Linked DNA regions of Homo sapiens: region 2 is linked to region 1. Evidence: promoter capture Hi-C in 16 types of primary human blood cells and fetal thymus (Javierre and others, 2016). All regions are on one chromosome and are shown on one strand. The core of a region is centred on a gene start or on the middle of the fragment in contact, and the rest is flanking DNA. Distances in the headings are between cores, read along the strand shown.

Region 1 (2,645 bases), core at 43-2,542:
CGCGTGGAGTCATGCGCACCCATCTGCACACACACGTGTTCACACGCACCCGTCTCTGCACATGCGTGTCCACACACACCCGTCTCTGCACACACGCGTGTCCACACGCACCCGTCTCTGCACACACGCATGGAGTCAAGTGCACCCGTCTCTGCACACACGTGTCCACACACACCCGTCTCTGCACACGCACATCCACACGCACACGTCTCTGCACACGCACGTGTCCACACGCACCCATCTCTGCACATGCGTGTCCACACACACCCGTCTCTGCACACACGTGTCCACACGCACCCGTCTCTGCACACACGCATGGAGTCACACGCACCCGTCTCTGCACACACAAGTGTCCACACACAGCCGTCTCTGTACACGCACGTCCACACGCACACGTCTCTGCACACACACGTCCACACGCACCCGCCTCTGCACACGCACGTGTCCACACGCATCCGTCTCTGCACACACACGTGTCCACACGCACCCGTCTCTGCACACACACGTGTCCACACGCACCCGTCTCTGCACACACATGTCCATACGCACCCGTCTCTGCACACACACGTGTCCACACACTCCTGCTCATGTGCTGCACCTACTGGCTTTGGGCACCAACGTCAACGCTTCGTCATTGTGGCGGGAGGCCCTCAGGACAGAGAAGTGCCCCCTCCCAGAGGACTCAGTCACCCTGGGGTCAGAGCCCAGGCACAGGTCTCCCTCAGCCCCTGAAGCTGGGCACTGCGGCCTGACGCACTCCTCCCAGGGAGGTCGGGAAACCTCAGGCCTGGACCATACCTCAGACCTCCCGCCTCCAGGACATGGAACGCAGAGCCACGGTCAGCTGGTCGGCTGCAGCGTTGGGTGCGGGTGCAGGCCCAGGCTCCTTCCCCACGGCCAAACCAGGGGGTGCCAATTCTGGCCTGCCCTGTGCTCCTCTGCACTGTGTGGGTGACTCATGGGTCATGGGTGGCTCCAGATTTCTGGGCATAAATTGGGTCCCAGCAGAAAGTACCCCAGAGGACCAGGCAGGCTGGGGGCCAGCTCTGCCGCTCACTTCCAGACCCTGCCACCCGTCCCCAGCCAGGGAGTCCCTTCTCTGTCCTCTGGTCTGCCCCGCCCCAGGCCTTGACCTCCTCCCTGTGGAGATGCAGGGGCAGTGGGGGATACAGGGACGCCCTGCTCTCAGGGCAGCTCTCAGGGAGGCAGTGCTGGGGAGGGGTAGGTGAGACCGCCCCTCCCACCGGGCCCACAGCACCACCCTGGTCTGAGGCACCGCCTCCAGGAAGCCCTCTCTGAGCTCTGAGCGCCTGCGGTCTCCTGTGTGCTGCTCTCTGTGGGGTCCTGTAGACCCAGAGAGGCTCAGCTGCACTCGCCCGGCTGGGAGAGCTGGGTGTGGGGAACATGGCCGGGCCTCCGAGGCTCCTGCTGCTGCCCCTGCTTCTGGCGCTGGCTCGCGGCCTGCCTGGGGCCCTGGCTGCCCAAGGTAAGAGCTTCCCAGGCTCTCCATGGCCACAGCTCCAGAGCTCTCCCTGCCCCATGAGCTCAGAGCCCCCAGTCTGAGCCACAGCACAGCCCCCAGGAAGCGGGTGGGGTGCTGAGCGGCCTCCAGTGTCTGAGGACTCATTTAAGAGAAGGAAAAAGGGTGGACCCCGGTGGGGAGTGGCCGGGGCTGTCCAGGCAGGGCCGCTGCTTTGGGAGGAAGAAGCCCACAGTCTCGGAACACGAGGACAGCACCTCCCCCAACACCACAGCCGGTGCCCAGATCTGCTCCATGCCCCGTAAGGCACCGTGTCTTTGGCGACATGTCAGCCCTGGGCTGTCTCAGGGCCCCACCATCCCCACCACTGTCCCCTGCAGGGAGGACATTCTCTGTCCTTCTGGCCAGACTGATGGTGACAGCCCAGGTCCTCCCCAGAGGTGCAGCAGTCTCCCCACTGCACGACTGTCCCCGTGGGAGCCTCCGTCAACATCACCTGCTCCACCAGCGGGGGCCTGCGTGGGATCTACCTGAGGCAGCTCGGGCCACAGCCCCAAGACATCATTTACTACGAGGACGGGGTGGTGCCCACTACGGACAGACGGTTCCGGGGCCGCATCGACTTCTCAGGGTCCCAGGACAACCTGACTATCACCATGCACCGCCTGCAGCTGTCGGACACTGGCACCTACACCTGCCAGGCCATCACGGAGGTCAATGTCTACGGCTCCGGCACCCTGGTCCTGGTGACAGGTAGGGAATGTGCCCATCCCAGACCCCCCTCCCAACCCCAGCTGCTGGCCAGGCTCTGCTCCCCCAGCCCTTGTCGTGGGACCCTCCCTCCTACATGTGCCTGAACTGTTCCAGCTCCCAGCCCACTGCCCCCAGCAGCCTCCTAGATAGCTGCCCCTCCTCCCCTCCACAGCCTTTCCCTGCCCCGAATCCCAAACCCCGGGGGCTCTAACAGGTTCTCCACCGGGAGAATCCCTTCCTTCTTTTTTCCTTCTCAGAGGAACAGTCCCAAGGATGGCACAGATGCTCGGACGCCCCACCAAGGGCCTCTGCCCTCCCTGCCCCACCGACAGGCTCCGCCCTCCCTGACCCGCAGACAGCCTCTGCCCTCCCTGACCCGCCAGCAGCCTCTGCCCTCCCTGCGGCCCTGGCG
Region 2 (2,645 bases), core at 83-2,582, 110 kb before region 1:
CTAGCCTCCTCCAGCCTTCTCCGGCCTTCTCTAGCCCAGCCTTCTCTGGCCTTCTCTAACCTTCTGTAGTCCAGCCTTCTCCAGCCTTCTCCAGCCTTCTCTAGCCTTCTCCAGCTTTCTCTAGCCTTCTCTAGCCCAGCCTTCTCTGGCCTTCCTTCTCTGGCCTTCTCTAACCTTCTCTAACCTTCTCTAACCTTCTGTAGTCCAGCCTTCTCCCATCAACAGAAGAAACGCCTGCAGGACAGAGACAGGAACTGCAGCTCTTCCCTGTAGGGGGCGCTGCTGATGCTTACTTTCCCTTTAAATGTTTCAAAATTCTCTCCAGTGAATGTTTGAAATGAAACTTTGTTTTCATACAATTAAAGAGATGAATTTAAAAAGACAAAAAAGGAATGTACCCACCACTGTTCAGTTCCTGACTGTGCCACCCGCACCTCCAGGTTGCTGCTCCTCCTGCCCTGCGGAACCCCCCCTTCCCCGCTTTCACGCCGCGCCCCTGTACCTGCCACGGGCAGTGTTACCTGTAGGCGTACTTGGCCCTCAGCAGCCTCAGAGGGCCCTCGTAGGGAAACATGTCTTCATACTCAATGAGGAGGCCGTTTGCACCTAGCGCACGGAACAGAGGAAAAATCTGGGGGGTAAACAGGGAGGGGTTAGGAAGAAGTGGCTGCTGGAGCACGATGTGGCAAGTCCACAGCAGGGAGACGCCTTCCCTTTCAGCCTGTGGAGACTGTGGGAGTTGCTACTTCTATTTCTCCTGGGAACCTTAAATCCGGAATGTGTACTTTACGTTATGCCAAATGAAACTCCCCGTTCCAGTGACTATTTTGCACAGAAGGGGAGATATGCTATGAAACAGGGCTGCTACTCAACGCGCTGGTGGCTCAGCTTGGGAGGGACGGGTCCGGCCAGCAGGGAGCCACCAAGAAGCAGCTCTTCATGCACGGCGGCCCAGCAAGGCAGCCAGGCTGAGGGGCACCAGCAAGGCATGGGGGACAGGGCAGCCAGGCTGAAGGAGAATGGCAAGGCATGGGGGACGGGGCAGGAGGAGCCGGGGCAGGGGGAGCAGGGCTCTGAAGGGTTGGGGTCAGCACCTGGGGGAGGTGAGAGAGGGGTGCAGAACTCATTCGTTCCTGGTCTGTACTCATGGGGTCCCTTCCCCCTTATTCTCCTCCCCACTTCCTTGTCTTTCTCTCTTTTTTTTTTTTTTTTGAGATGGAGTCTCGCTCTCTCGCCCAGGCTGGAGTGGAGTGGCGTGATCTTGGCTCGTTGCAACCTCTGCCTCCCGGGTTCAAGCGATTCTCCTGCCCCAGCCTCCCGAGTAGCTGGGATTACAGGCGCCCGCCCCGATGCCCAGCTAATTTTTGTATTTTTAGTAGAGACGGGGTTTCACCATGTTGGCCAGGCTGGTCTCGAACTCCTGACCTCAGGTAATCTGCCCCTCGGCCTTCCAAAATGCTGGGATTACAGGTGTGAGCCACTGTGCCCGGCCTCTCTCTTTTTTTTAACAGATGGGGTCTCACTCTGTTGCCCAGGCTGGAGCGTGCTGGCATGATCATGGCTCGCTGCAGCACCCAACTCCTGGGCTCAAGTGATCCTCCAGCCTCAGCCTTCCAAGGAGCTGGGACTACAGGCACATGCTAGGCCTCCTGGATGACACACATGCAGGAGAACTAAGGAGCCCCAGCTGACAGTTGGGATGAACTGCCGGACATGGAAGGCCACGCGGACCATCAGAGGTTTCTAGATGTTACGGGGCTGTGACCACCTGAGGGCACCTCGGTCAGAAAAGCAGAATCACGCAGCCAACCCACAGAAACACAAGGGGTGATGAATGGGGACCTCAAGTTTGGGGAGATCTGTCACGCAGCAACAGATGATGGAAACAGGGACTCCAGCTGTGTGTAAGTTGGATCTTCTTTGCCTATATTCAATTGTCAGAACGCCTTTCCTTTCTTTTTTTTTTTGAGATGGAGTTTTGCTCTTGTCCCCCAGGATGGAGTGCAGTGGCACGATCTCAGCTCACCACAACCTCCGCCTCCCGGGTTCAAGCAATTCTCCTGCCTCAGTCTCCCGAGTAGCTGAGATTACAGGCACCTGACACCACGCCTGGCTAATTTTTGTATTTTTAATAGAGACAGGGTTTCACCATGTTGGTCAGGCTGGTCTCGAACTCCTGACCTCAGGTGATCCACCCTCCTCAGCCTCCCAAAGTGCTGGGATTATAGGCATGAGCCACCGCGCCTGGCCCAAGTCAAAATGCCTCTTCATCAGCTGTATGTAAGTTCAGTCTTCTTTGCCATATTCAATTTGTCAGAACGCCTTTTCATCTCTGTTTGCTTTTTTCTTTTCTGTCATCTGTTTCCAAATACTGCACTTTCCATGGTGTCTACTCACTTGTACACTTCTTATAGTTTAGTCTTCATTAAAAACATTGTTTTTTCCTTATAATTCATTTCTGAGCTCCACAGGCAATTTTTTACAACCTCCTTTTGTCTGATTACCACATTTCTGGGCTTTTTTTTTTTTAGACTGAGTCTTGCTCTATCGCCCAGGCTGGAGTGCAGTGGCACGATCTTGGCTCACTGCAACCTCCACCACCCAGGTTCAGGTGATTCTCATGCCTCAGCCTCCCAAGTAGGTGG

The links. Contacts are between HindIII fragments. The CHiCAGO score rates a contact against its expected background, and 5 or more counts as called.
Region 2: a fragment that was not itself captured here is called in contact with the fragment with the promoter of CD7 in region 1 in 1 of 17 cell types (M0 macrophages); the score reaches 5.3 in M0 macrophages.

Annotation. Positions count from the first base shown.
Region 1 is chr17:82,316,255-82,318,899 of GRCh38, reverse strand. It overlaps CD7 (CD7 molecule), which reads left to right and starts at 1,292. Exons shown (of 4, transcript NM_006137.7): 1 at 1,292-1,486; 2 at 1,919-2,233; 3 at 2,491-2,645. The coding sequence starts at 1,405. The HindIII fragment of the contact is 24,830 bases long and covers 1-2,645 here.
Region 2 is chr17:82,422,380-82,425,024 of GRCh38, reverse strand. It overlaps HEXD (hexosaminidase D), which reads right to left. Exons shown (of 13, transcript NM_001330542.2): 3 at 522-631. Among named protein-coding and RNA genes, the nearest start is that of HEXD-IT1, 1.6 kb to the left of the region's middle. RefSeq lists an enhancer at 207-1,042. The HindIII fragment of the contact is 7,971 bases long and covers 1-2,645 here.